Regions from separate parts of the Homo sapiens genome. Here all the other regions are linked to region 1. Evidence: promoter capture Hi-C in human tissues and cell types (Jung and others, 2019). All regions are on one chromosome and are shown on one strand. Each heading gives the region's core, a stretch centred on a gene start or on the middle of the fragment in contact. The rest is flanking DNA. Distances are from core to core; before and after follow the strand shown.

Region 1 (4,551 bases), core at 1,446-3,945:
AGCACCTCCTGACTCCAACCCCCTGCAACAGAGAGTGATCTGGCCCCAAATATCTAGTGCAGAGTTGGAGAAACACTGCTGTATAGGTTGTCTTGTTAAATTACAATTTTGGGGGGTTTTTTTTGGAGACGGAGTCTTGCTCTGTCGCCCAGGCTGGAGTGCAGTGGTGTGATCTCAGCTCACTGCAACCTTTGCCTCCTGGGTTCAAGCGATTCTCGTGCCTCAGCCTCCCAAGTAGCTGGGATTACAGGCGTACACCACCACGCCTGGCTAATTTTTGTACTTTTTGGAGAGACAGGTTTTTGCCATTTTGGCCAGGCTGGTCTCGAACTCCTGGCCTCAGGTGGTCTGCCCGCCTCGGCCTCCCAAAGTGCTGAGATTACAGGCATGAGCCACCGCGCCTGGCCTTGTTAAATAAAATGTATGGCAGGCCATTGTTTTAGACAATGGGGTCTCTAGTCCCCAGCAGACCAGATAAAATTGGAATGGAGTCACTAGTGCCAGGTACCACGTAGTCAAACTGATCTTTTATTTTTTTTATTTTTTGAAATAGGGTCTCGCTCCGTTGCCCACACTGGAGTGCAGTGGCGCAATCATGGCTGACTGCAGACTTGAACTCCTGGATGCAAGCCATTCTCCTGCCTCAGCCTCCCGAGGAGCTGGGACTACAGGTGTGTGCCAGCACATGTGGCTAATTATTAAAAATTTTTTTGGCTGGGTGCCGTGGCTCACGCCTGTAACTGCAGCACTTTGGGAGGTCGAGGTGGGTGGATCACGAGGTCAGGAGTTCAGGACCAGCCTGGCCAAGATGGTGAAACCAGGTCTCTACTAAAAATACAAACATTAGCTGGGCATGGTGGCGGGTGCCTGTAATCCCAGCTACTCGGGAGGCAGAGAATTGCTTGAACCCAGGAGGTGGAGGTTGCAGTGAGCCGAGATCATGCCATTGCACTCCAGCCTGGGTGACAAGAGCAAGACTCTGTCTCCAAAAAAAAAAAATTTTTTTTTTTGGAGACAGAGTCTCACTATGTTGCCCAGGATGTTCTCAAACTCCTAGGCTTAAGCGATCTCCCCATCTCAGCCTCCCAAAGTGCTGAGATTACAGGTGAGAGCCACCCGTACCTGGCCTCAAACTGAACTTTAAAGGGTGCAGGTTTTCAAAAAAAAACATTCACAGCCACCAAGCCAAAGGGGACCGGTTAACCTGATAGGGAAGTACCCTCAAAATAGAGGGGGTTAAAACAGACCCTATGAAAAAAGTAACTTTGAAACAACCAATTGGTTTTTATTTCGTATTTTTATTTTTACTTTTTTTGAGACAAACTCTCACTCTGTCACCCAGGCTGGAATGCAGTGATGTGATCAGGGCTCACTGCAACCTTGACCTCTCTTGCTCAAACAATCCTGCCACCTTAGCCTCCCAAATACCTAGGACTATAGGCGCCCAGCTAATTTTTTTTTTTTTTTTTTTTTGAGGTGGAGTCTTACTCTGTTGCCTAGGCTGGAGTGCAGTGGTTCAATCTTGGCTCCCTGCAACCTCCGCCTCCCGGGTTAAAGCAATTCTCCTGCCTCAGCTTCCCGAGTAGCTGAGACTACAGGCATGTGCCACCATGCCTGGCTAATTTTTGTATTTTTAGTAGAGACGGGATTTCACCATATTGGTCAGGCTGGTCTCGAACTCCTGACCTCATGATCTGCCCGGCTTGGCCTCCTAAAGTGCTGGGAATACAGGTGTGAGCCACTGCACCTGGCTAATTTTTTTATTTTTATTTTTAGAAATGGGGTCTTGCTATGTTGCCCAGGCCAGTCTCAAACTCCTGGGCTCAGGCTATCCTCCCACCTCCGCCTCCCAAAGTGCTGGCATTACAGGCGTGAGCAAACCACTGTACCTGGCCTGGCTTTTATTTTAATTCTTATTTCTCCTTTCTTCAGCCTTTTCTGCCTGTAATGCAGAATGCCCATCCTCTCTGCTCAGCTCATTGGAGTGCCTATTTAATAGATTGAATGCTATCCAATTCATGAATTGCTAATAAGAGCCAATGAGATCATTAAACTCAATTTGTTGAAATTCATACTCCTTGACAGCCTCTTCTGGACATTTTATATCAGTGGCATTGTACACTATATGGCTTTTTTTTTTTTTTTTTTTTTTTTTTGAGACAAAGTTTCTCATTGTTGCCCAGGCTGGAGTGCAGTGCCGCGATCTTGGCTTACTGCAACCTCCACGTCCCAAGTTCAAGAGATTCTCCTGCCTCAGCCTCCCAAGTAGCTGGGATTACCGGCGCGCGCCTCCGTAGTAGAGATGGTGTGGGGGGGTCTCCCTATGTGGTCCAGGCTGATCTCGAAATTCTTTTCTCAAGTGATCCACCGGCCTTGGCCTCCCAAAGTGCTGGGATTACAGGCGTGAGCCACCACGCCCGGCCCTATATGGCCTTTTGTGTCTGGTTCTTTGAACACGTTTTGAGGTTCTCTAAGTGGGGAAACAGGTACTAGAAAGCAACCCAACGCTGTTTCCTCGTGGCGGAGCTGGGAGTTTGCAGCCAGGAAGTCTGTCTCTGGAGTCAGCGCCTCTGCGAAGCGAGAGCTGGACGGAGACTTCAACTTCCGGCGTGCCCCGCGCGCGCCCGGCGGTCGGACTACCAGTCCCAGGCTGCCCCGCCGCGGCGGGCGGCGGGCGCGGCGCGGCGCGGCGCCATCTTGCAGCCGGCGGCGCGGATTGAATGAGCCCGCCGAGCCCGGGCCGCCGTCGGGAGCAGCGCAGGCCGCGAGCCGCCGCCACCATGGCCACGCCGCTGCCCGGCCGCGCGGGCGGGCCCGCCACGCCGCTGTCGCCCACGCGCCTGTCGCGGCTGCAGGAGAAGGAGGAGCTGCGCGAGCTCAACGACCGCCTGGCGCACTACATCGACCGCGTCCGCGCGCTGGAGCTGGAGAACGACCGGCTCCTGCTCAAGATCTCAGAGAAGGAGGAGGTGACCACGCGCGAGGTGGGCGCCGGGGCTTAGGGGCCGGGCGGGGGTGCAGCCGGCAGGCCCCGCCCACCGCGGGGCGCGCGATCGCGGGGACCCTGGGCGGGGGTGCAGACGGGGACGGGCCCCGGCTTCGGGGGTTTCCGCGGGGTTTCGGGGGGCCCCTGAGTGAGGGGTGCAGCTCGGCCAGGTCCCTCCCACCGCGGGGTGGGCAATCGCTGGGACCCTGGGTGCAGACAGGGACGGGCCCGGGTCTCGAGGGTCTCCAGGGGGTTTCGAGGGGCCCCTGAGTGAGCGGTGCAGTTCGGCCAGGCCCCGCCCACCGCGGGGTGCGTGATCGCGGGGACCCTGGGCGGGGGTGCAGACGGGGACAGGCTCCGGCTCGGGGGTCTCCAGGAGGTTTGGGGGCTTCTGAGTGAGGGGTGCTGCTCGGCTAGGCCCAGCCCACTGCGGGGCTCCCAGTCGCGGGGAACCCTGAGCTGGGATGCAGACGGGGACAGTCCGGCCTCGGGGATCTCCGCCGCGTTTCGGAGAGTCCCTGAGTGAAAGGTGCTACTCGGCCAGGCCCCGCCCACCACGGGGCGCGCGATCGCGGGGGACTCTGAACGACTCCCGGCTTGGGGTCTCCAGGGGGTTTGCGGGGGGCTCCTGGATGAAGGGTGCAGGTCCTGGCCACCGCGGGGTGCGCGATCGCGGGGACCCTGGGCAGGGGTGCAGACCGGGAAGGGTCCCGGCTTGGGGGTCTCCAGGGGGTTTCAAGGGGTCCCTGAGTGAGGGGTGCAGCTCGGCCAGGCCCAGCCCACCGCGGAGTACGCGATCACGGGGGACCCTGAGCAGGGGTGGGGTCAGCCTGGCCTCGGGGATCTCCAGGGGGAGACCCTGAGTGAGGGGTGCCACCTGGGCAGGCCCTGCCCACCGCAGTTTCCGAGATCTTGGGGGACCCCTTGGGAGGGGTGCAGACCGGAGTGGCCCATTCTCTTGGGGACCTCCAGGGGGTTTCTAGGGCACTGAGTGAAAAGTGCAGACCAGGAATGCCCCACCTATGGAGGGGGTCCCAGGAGATCTTCCGTGTCCTGAGTGAGGGCTGCAGAGGGGCCTCCAGCTAGCTCTGGGGACCCTTCCGTGAGAGGTGCATTTTGGGGCCATGGGGGTTACAGACTAGGGCTCCCCACCAAAGAGAGGTCCTGGGGATTTGGGGGCTCCCTGAGTATTGGGCTGCAGCCCCCCATATGCCTCGTCCCTCAGAGGATTCCAAGGAGACTTGGCGGACCCCCCCCAACTGAGGGGGTGTGAGTGGGAGTCTCTGGGGATGAAGCTGGGTATTGGGGTATCTGGGGTGGAATGGGGGTGGTCTCTGGGCTCCAAGGAGACTGGGGGGCCCAGGCCCTCTGAGGAGGCCCAAGATGGGGTGTGTGGGGGGTCTCCCTGGAGTCTCTGGGGTGAGTCACGTGGTCTCAGTTCTCCCTGGAGCTTTAGCGAGTTCCCTGATGAATCCAGAAGAGATTGGTGACTGGGGTGGGAATTAGGCCCCTCATCTCTCACCAGGCCCAGGGTGGGTAGGGGGCCGAGGGAGAGGTTCTGATAC
Region 2 (4,325 bases), core at 217-2,716, 640 kb before region 1:
GCCGGCAGGTGGGGGGCTGCTCTCAACGAGGACTCAGCGTGGCTCCCACCAGGACTCTAAGGAAGGGGGCGGGGGAGGCTGCCGAGATAGCTGCTTGGGACAACAAGCAAAGGCTCCCTCAGGTGTCAACCGCCCCACCCTCAGCTGAGCGGAACCCTGAGGAGAGGAAAGACTGTCTTTTTCCCACAGGGTGCATTCCAGCCAAGAGGAGTACGGGGTTTCCCGGAACAGGAAGGCAGGAGAATGGCCCTGAAGGGAATGTGGGGATAGGGGACACGGAGGAGTCTTCGGGGGGATGGGGGGGTGTACAGGGCCTGCATGGAGGGTACAGGGCCTGCATGGAGTGTACAGGGCTCTGCCTGGAGGGAAGGGTCAACGCGGGGCCCTGAGCAGTGAGGGGTGAGTGTGCCCTGTGGGTTACAGCCCAAAGGTCTGGCCCTGAAGGGGTAGCGAGGGGTGGGTACTCCGGTGGGGTAAGGTCAGAAGGTCCCTGTGCAGGGAGGGACTGGTCCCTTGAGAAGGAACAGAGGGCAAATCCTGAAGAGTCCTGGAGGCCCAATGTAGACAGCAGAAGCTGGGAGCTGACCTAGGAGTGATCGGGGGCCTGATCCAGACAGGACAGACACAGGCTGACACCGGAGAGTCCCAGGTGCCAACATGAACAGTTAAGGCAGGGGCTGACCCCAAAGAAATCAGGGGCCCGCAGCTGACCCCGGAGGGTCCCAGGTGCCGACCTAGACAGCAAAGGCAGGGCTGACCCCAGAGGGTCCCGAGCCGACCCAGACGACACAGGCAGGGCTGATCCCGGAGGGCCCCGCCCCGACCCGGACAGGCAGTGAAGGCACAGGCAGGGCTGACACTCGAGGGTCCCGCGACCCGGACAGGCAGGGAAGGCACAGGCAGGGCTGACCCCGGAGGGTCTCGCGACCCGGACGGCACAGGCAGGGCTGACCCCGGAGGGTCCCGGCCCGACCCGGACAGGCAGGGCAGGCACAGGCAGGGCAGGGCCCGCAGCCGGCAGGCCCGGGGGCCGCACTCACCGAGCAGCAGCAGCTTGAGCTCGCGCCGGGCGTCGCGCTTGTCCCGCCGCAGCTGCTTCTCGATCTCGGCGTTGATCCGCTTGGACTCCTTCACCTCATCGCTCAGGCAACACGCCATCATGGACTCCAGAGTCATCGTCCCGGCCCCGGCCGACGCGGCCGCCTGCCCGCCGCCGCCCCCCGGCCCCCGGCCCGGCCCTGGCCGGAGCCGCCTCGGCCGCCGCCCGCCGCGGCCCTCCGGCCTCGGCCACCGGCCCTCGGCCCCGGGCCGGCCCGCCCCGCCTCGGCCGCCGCCTGGCGAGCCGCCGGGTCCCCGCTCGGGCCGCGCCAGCCGCGGACTCCCGCGCGGCCGCACTCAGCCCGCGCCGCCGCCGCAGCCACCGCCAACCGCAGCCGCCGCAACCGAGCGACAGCGCCGGACAACCTAGCAGGCTGGGAGCGCAGCCCGCGACGGGCAGACGGTGCGGCCAATGGGAGGGGCCGGCGGCCAAGCGCGCCCACCATGGGGGCGGGACTAGCGGCCTGGGCGGGGCGTCGGCGGGCGCGAAAGGGGCGGGGCGGGGCGAGGGCGGGGGGCCCGCGGGTTTGGTTGCGCCGACGTGGGAAGGGGGACGCGCAGCCGGGAGCCGGGGCGGGGCCGCCCGGGATTGTGGGAATGTGGCGGACTCGGCCCGGCCAGGCTCGGCTCCGCTCGGCTCCGTTCGGCCCCGCTCGGTCCCGCTCGGCTCGGCCCAGGCGCGGTGGCGGAGGCGCGCACGCGGCCGCTGCGCTCTCTGGGTCTCCAGGTGCCTGGGCAGCAGTCGCTGCCCCCGGGAAGCGCCCTGACATTGCCTGACAGGAACCTTCACTCATCCATTAAAAAGCGTTAATGGAGGTCGGGCGCGGTGGCTCACGCCTGTAATCCCAGCACTTTGGAAGGCCGAGGCGGGCGGATCACCTGAGGTCTGGAGTTCGAGACCAGCCTGACCAACAGGGAGAAACGCCGTCTCTACTAAAACTACAAAATTAGCCCGGCGTGGTGGTGCACGCCCGTAATCCCAGCTACTCGGGAGGCTGAGGCAGGAGAATCACTTGAACCCAGGAGGCGGAGGTTGCAGTGAGCCGAGATCACGCCATTGCACTCCAGCCTGGGCAACAAGAACGAAACTCCGTCTCCAAAGAAAAAAAAAAAAAAAGAGGGCCGGGCGCGGTGGCTCACGCCTGTAATCCCAGCACTTTGGGAGGCCGAGGCGGGTGGATCACGAGGTCAGGAGATCGAGACTATCCTGGCTGACACGGTGAAACCCCGTCTCTACTAAAAATACAAAAAATTAGCCGGGCGTGGTGGCGGGCGCCTGTAGTCCCAGCTACTCGGGAGGCTGAGGCAGGAGAATGGCGTGAACCCGGGAGACGGAACTTGCAGTGAGCTGAGATCATGCCACTGCACTCCAGCCTGGGCGACAGAGCGAGACTCTGTCTCAAAAAAAAAAATTAAAAAGCGTTAATGGGACACCTACTGTGTATCAGGCATTAATGGGACACATTCTATATGCCAGGCACGGACCAGAGATTAATGGAGTGCCTGCTGTCCATCAGGTGTCAATCAGGCCTTACTGCAGTGCCTGCACCATTCCAGGCCAGGTATACGCATTCATGAAATGCCTACAGGATACCAGGCACTGCTGTAAGCCCGTTAAGCTAACCCTACCCAAGGGATATCTTTTTTTTCTTCTTCTTTTTTTGAGATGGAGTCTTGCTCTGTCGCCCAGGCTGGAGTGCAGGGGCGTGATCTAGGTTCATTGCACCCTCTGCCTCACAGGCTCTAGTGATTCTCCTGCCTCACCCTCCCAAGTAGCTGGGATTACAGGCGCGCCACCATGCCTGGCTAATTTTGTATTTTTAGTAGAGAGCGGGTTTCGCCACGTTGGCCAGGCTGGTCTCAAACTCCTGGCCTCTAGTGATCTGCCCTCCTCGGCCTCCCAAAGCGCTGGGATTATAGATGTGAGCCACCTCACCCAGCCATATCTTTATCCTTACTTTGCAGATGAAATGGAAGTGGCCACCAGAATTTATAAAAACGTGTGTTCCCACCACCTTGCTGACTACTGAAAACCCTTTTCCCTCTCTGGCCTCCTTGGCCAACCCCTGAGCATCCTCTCCGTTTCAATTCAGACGTCAGCTCCTCAGGGAGACTTCTCCTGACTCCTCAGACCAAGCCAGGTACCTTCTCTTGAGCCACAACTTGAAATTGTATGTTCTGGCCAGGTGCGGCAGCTCCTGCCGGTAATCCCAGTACTTGGGAGGCCAAGGCAGGTGGACCGCTTGAGCTCAGGAGTTCGAGACCAGCCTAGATAACATGGCGAAACCCCATCTCTACTAAAAATACAAAAAATTAGATGGGTGTGGTGGCACATGCCTGTAATCCCAGCTACTCGGGAGGCTGAGAGGATCACTTGAGCCCAGGAGGCAGATGTTGCAGTGAGCGGAGATGGGGCTACTGCACTCCAGCCTGGGACACAAGAGTGAGACCCTGTATCAAAACAAAACAAAACAAAACACCAGAGTGGCCAACATGGTGAAACCCCCTCTCTACTAAAAATACAAAAATGACCCGGGCGTGGTGGCGGGCACCTGTGGTCTCAGCTACTTTTGCTGAGGCAGGAGAATCGCTTGAACCCGGGAGGCAGAGGTTGCAGGGAGCTGGGATCATACCACTGCATTCCAGCCAGGGCAACAGAACGAGACTCCGTCTCAAAAAAAAAAAAAAAAAAAGGCCGGGTGTGGTGGTTTATGCCTGTAATCCCAGCACTTTGGGAGGCCGAGGTGGGCAGATCACCTGAGATCGGGAGTTCAAGACCAGCCTGACCACCATGGAGAAACCCCGTCTCTACTGAAAATACAGAATTAGCCAGGCACGGTGGCTCATGCCTGTAATCCCAGCTACTTGGGAGACTGAGGCAGGAGAACCTCTTGAACCCGGGAGGCGGAGGTTGCAGTGAGCTGAGATCGCACCATTGCACTCCAGCCTGGGCAACAAGAGAGAAACTCCGTCCAAAAAAAAAAAAAAACAAAAAAGCAGGGTGTGGTGGCTCATGCCTGTAATCCCAGCACTTTGGAAGGCCAAGGCAGGCAGATCACTTGAGGTCAGCAGTTTGAGACCAGCCTGGCTAACATGGCAAAACCCTGTCTCTATTAAAAATACAAAAAAATTAGTGGACACCTGTAATCCCAGCTACTCGGGAGGCTGAGGCAGCAGAATCTCTTGAACCCAGGAGGTGGACGTTGCAGTGAGCCGAGACCACACCA
Region 3 (4,522 bases), core at 1-2,500, 720 kb before region 1:
GTTAGCAATAACGTGAACGTGTGAACAATCAAGCAGCTGGCCAATCGTTTCCTCCCCCTGCTTTCTACCCAATAAGTACGAAGGGCTGTAGAAGCTTGGGGGGCTGCCTTTGCTCACTAGAAGCAGGGAGCTCTCTTTTTCTTCCCCTGGTCCCTTCCTTTAAAACAGTTTCTTCTGTCTTAAGTTTTCATTTCTACATTCGTCCCTTCGTTCAGTCTTGTAATGATGGTCTCAAGTAGTAACAATAGTAACTGTCGTAGTGACAGTCTCAGGTAGTAATCATGGCAACCACACACAGGCGTCCCATGAAGGGTACAGGCATCCCATGAGGGCACAGGTGTCCCATGAGAATGCAGGCGTCCCATGAGGGGCACAGGCATCCCATGAGAACACAGGCATCCCATGAGGGGCACAGGCGTCCCATGAGGGTACAGGCATCCCATGAGGGCACAGGTGTCCCATGAGAATGCAGGCGTCCCATGAGGGCACAGGCATCCCATGAGGGGCACAGGCATCCCATGAGAGCACAGATGTCCCATGAGGGGTACAGGCGTCCCATGAGGGTACAGGCATCCCATGAGAACACAGGCGTCCCATGAGGGGTACAGGCATCCCATGAGGGCACAGGCATCCCATGAGAACACAGGTGTCCCATGAGAACACAGGTGTCCCATGAGGGCACAGGCGTCCCATGAGAATGCAGGCGTCCCATGAGAACGCAGGCGTCCCATGAGGGCACAGGCGTCCCATGAGGGCACAGGTGTCCCATGAGGGGCACAGGCGTCCCATGAGAACACAGGCGTCCCATGAGGGGCACAGGCGTCCCATGAGAACACAGGCGTCCCATGAGGGCACAGGCGTCCCGTGAGAACACAGGTGTCCCATGAGGGGCACAGGCGTCCCATGAGAACACAGGCGTCCCATGAGGGCACAGGCGTCCCATGAGAACACAGGTGTCCCATGAGGGGCACAGGCGTCCCATGAGAACACAGGCGTCCCATGAGGGCACAGGCGTCCCATGAGAACACAGGTGTCCCATGAGGGGCACAGGCGTCCCATGAGAACACAGGCGTCCCATGAGGGCACAGGCGTCCCATGAGGGGCACAGGCGTCCCATGAGAACACAGGCGTCCCATGAGGGCACAGGCGTCCCATGAGGGCACAGGTGTCCCATGAGGGGCACAGGCGTCCCATGAGAACACAGGCGTCCCATGAGGGGCACAGGCGTCCCATGAGAACACAGGCGTCCCATGAGGGCACAGGCGTCCCATGAGAACACAGGCGTCCCATGAGGGGCACAGGCGTCCCATGAGAACACAGGCGTCCCATGAGAACACAGGCGTCCCATGAGGGCACAGGCGTCCCATGAGGGCACAGGCGTCCCATGAGAACACAGGCGTCCCATGAGGGCACAGGCGTCCCATGAGGGCACAGGCGTCCCATGAGAACACAGGCGTCCCATGAGGGCACAGGCGTCCCATGAGGGCACAGGCGTCCCATGAGGGCACAGGCGTCCCATGAGAACACAGGCGTCCCATGAGGGGCACAGGCGTCCCATGAGAACACAGGCGTCCCATGAGGGCACAGGCGTCCCATGAGGGGCACAGGCGTCCCATGAGAACACAGGCGTCCCATGAGGGCACAGGCGTCCCATGAGGGCACAGGCGTCCCATGAGAACACAGGCGTCCCATGAGGGCACAGGCGTCCCATGAGAACACAGGCGTCCCATGAGGGCACAGGTGTCCCATGAGAACACAGGCGTCCCATGAGAACACAGGTGTCCCATGAGGGCACAGGTGTCCCATGAGAATTCAGGCGTCCCATGCGGGGCACGGGCATCCCATGAGAACACAGGCATCCCATGAGGGGCACAGGCGTCCCATGAGGGTACAGGCATCCCATGAGAACACAGGCGTCCCATGAGGGCACAGGCATCCCATGAGGGGCACAGGCATCCCATGAGGGCACAGATGTCCCATGAGGGGTACAGGCGTCCCATGAGGGTACAGGCATCCCATGAGAACACAGGCGTCCCATGAGGGGTACAGGCATCCCATGAGGGCACAGGCATCCCATGAGAACACAGGTGTCCCATGAGAACACAGGTGTCCCATGAGGGCACAGGCGTCCCATGAGAATGCAGGCGTCCCATGAGAACACAGGTGTCCCATGAGGGCACAGGCGTCCCATGAGGGCACAGGCGTCCCATGAGAACACAGGTGTCCCATGAGAGGCACAGGCGTCCCATGAGAACACAGGCGTCCCATGAGGGCACAGGCGTCCCATGAGAACACAGGTGTCCCATGAGGGGCACAGGCGTCCCATGAGAACACAGGCGTCCCATGAGGGCACAGGCGTCCCATGAGAACACAGGCGTCCCATGAGGGGCACAGGCGTCCCATGAGAACACAGGCGTCCCATGAGGGCACAGGAGTCCCATGAGAACACAGGCGTCCCATGAGGGGCACAGGCGTCCCATGAGAACACAGGCGTCCCATGAGGGCACAGGCGTCCCATGAGGGCACAGGCGTCCCATGAGGGGCACAGGCGTCCCATGAGAACACAGGCGTCCCATGAGGGCACAGGCGTCCCATGAGGGCACAGGCGTCCCATGAGGGGCACAGGCGTCCCATGAGAACACAGGCGTCCCATGAGGGCACAGGCATCCCATGAGGGCACAGGCATCCCATGAGGGCACAGGCGTCCCATGAGAACACAGGCGTCCCATGAGGGCACAGGCGTCCCATGAGAACACAGGCGTCCCATGAGAACACAGGCATCCCATGAGGTCACAGGCGTCCCATGAGGGCACAGGCATCCCATGAGGGCACAGGCGTCCCATGAGAACACAGGCGTCCCATGAGGGCACAGGTGTCCCATGAGAACACAGGTGTCCCATGAGGGCACAGGCATCCCATGAGGGGCACAGGCATCCCATGAGAACACAGGCATCCCATGAGGGGCACAGGCGTCCCATGAGAACACAGGCATCCCATGAGGGGCACAGGCATCCCATGAGAACACAGGCGTCCCATGAGGGCACAGGCATCCCATGAGGGGCACAGGCGTCCCATGAGAACACAGGCATCCCATGAGGGCACAGGCGTCCCATGAGAACACAGGCGTCCCATGAGAACACAGTTGTCCCATGAGGGCACAGGCGTCCCATGAGGGCACAGGTGTCCCATGAGAACACAGGTGTCCCATGAGAACACAGGTGTCCCATGAGGGCACAGGTGTCCCATGAGAATGCAGGCATCCCATGCGGGGCACAGGCATCCCATGAGGGTACAGGCATCCCATGAGGGGCACAGGTGTCCCATGAGAACACAGGTGTCCCATGAGGGGCACAGGCGTCCCATGAGGGTACAGGCATCCCATGAGAACACAGGCGTCCCATGAGGGGCACAGGCGTCCCATGAGGGTACAGGCGTCCCATGAGAACACAGCCATCCCATGAGGGCACAGGCATCCCATGAGAACACAGACGTCCCATGAGGGGTACAGGCGTCCCATGAGGGGTACAGGCGTCCCATGAGAACACAGGCCTCCCATGAGGGGCACAGGTGTCCCATGAGGGCACAGACGTCCCATGAGAACACAGGCGTCCCATGAGCGGCACAGTATCGGCCCTGAGAAGCGGGGGCACCCCAGGGAGGGCAGGGCTGGCAGGAGACGGGGGCTGATCGCAGCACATGCTGGGGCCCCATGGCCCCTCCCTTTGCTTACGGTTCAGTTCTGAAGCAGGACAGTGTCGGGAGGCTCCATGCGAGGAACTGACTGGGGAGGCAGCTGCCTTTTGTCACTGGAGGTCACCAAGCAGAAAGGGGATCTGGAGAGGGATGTGGGGCTCGGGGAGGAGGGGCCGGCAGCTGGGAGGTGAGGCCAGGAGGGAAACAAACAGCCAGGTCTTGCCCAGGCACTGCCCTGCCCAGTGAGTAGACAAGTGAGCCTCAGTCCAGCCTCACATGACTCAGGCACCTACACAGAGAGACATTGTGTGTTCTGAGGTTGAGTGCCTCATGATGGACTAAGCCCTGATCCCAGGCTAAGCCCCCTATGCTTGACTGAGCCCTGCTCCTAGGCCCAGCCCCCCACTCTGCACTGAACACTGATCCAAGGCTTAGTCCCTCATCCTAGACTGAGTCCTGATTGCTGAGTCCCAGGCCCAGCCCCCGTCCTAGACTGAGCCTTGATCCCAGGACCAGCCCCCCACTCTGTACTGAGCCTGCATCCCAAGCCCAGTCCCCATCCTAGACTGAGCCCTAATCCCTGGACTGAGCTCTCATCCCAGGCTCAGTCCACATCCAAGACTAAGCCCTAATCCCAGGCTCAGCCCCCTACCCTGGACTGAATGCTGATCCCAGGCTTGGTCCACATCCTAGACTGAACCCTAATCCCAGACACAGCCTCCAATCCTGGACCAAGACCCCCAGGTCCCAATCCCAACCTCCAACCTAGACTGATGCCTGACCCCAGGCTCAGCTCTGACTCCAAGATGAGCCCTGACCCTGGCTGAGC

What was found. The method cuts DNA at HindIII sites, captures the fragments that hold promoters and counts their contacts. A contact is called where the count stands out against the background at its distance.
Region 2: a contact is called between the fragment with the promoter of GNA11 here and the fragment with the promoter of LMNB2 in region 1, in 1 of the 25 tissues and cell types used here (spleen).
Region 3: a fragment that was not itself captured here is called in contact with the fragment with the promoter of LMNB2 in region 1 in 1 of the 25 tissues and cell types used here (dorsolateral prefrontal cortex).

What each region holds. Positions count from the first base shown.
Region 1 is chr19:2,455,103-2,459,653 of GRCh38, reverse strand. LMNB2 (lamin B2) reads left to right here and starts at 2,695. Exons shown (of 12, transcript NM_032737.4): 1 at 2,695-2,984. The coding sequence starts at 2,721. LINC01775 (long intergenic non-protein coding RNA 1775) reads left to right here. Exons shown (of 2, transcript NR_134931.1): 2 at 554-717. RefSeq lists silencers at 2,597-2,776, 2,897-3,146, 3,207-3,296, 3,527-3,706 and an enhancer at 3,967-4,551. The HindIII fragment of the contact is 70,551 bases long and covers 1-4,551 here.
Region 2 is chr19:3,091,503-3,095,827 of GRCh38, reverse strand. It overlaps GNA11 (G protein subunit alpha 11), which reads right to left and starts at 1,466. Exons shown (of 7, transcript NM_002067.5): 1 at 1,041-1,466. The coding sequence starts at 1,176. RefSeq lists enhancers at 1-673, 674-1,661 and silencers at 958-1,087, 1,408-1,527, 1,548-1,797. The HindIII fragment of the contact is 21,058 bases long and covers 1-4,325 here.
Region 3 is chr19:3,171,653-3,176,174 of GRCh38, reverse strand. No RefSeq gene overlaps it. Among named protein-coding and RNA genes, the nearest start is that of S1PR4, 4.9 kb to the left of the region's middle. The HindIII fragment of the contact is 3,498 bases long and covers 1-2,999 here.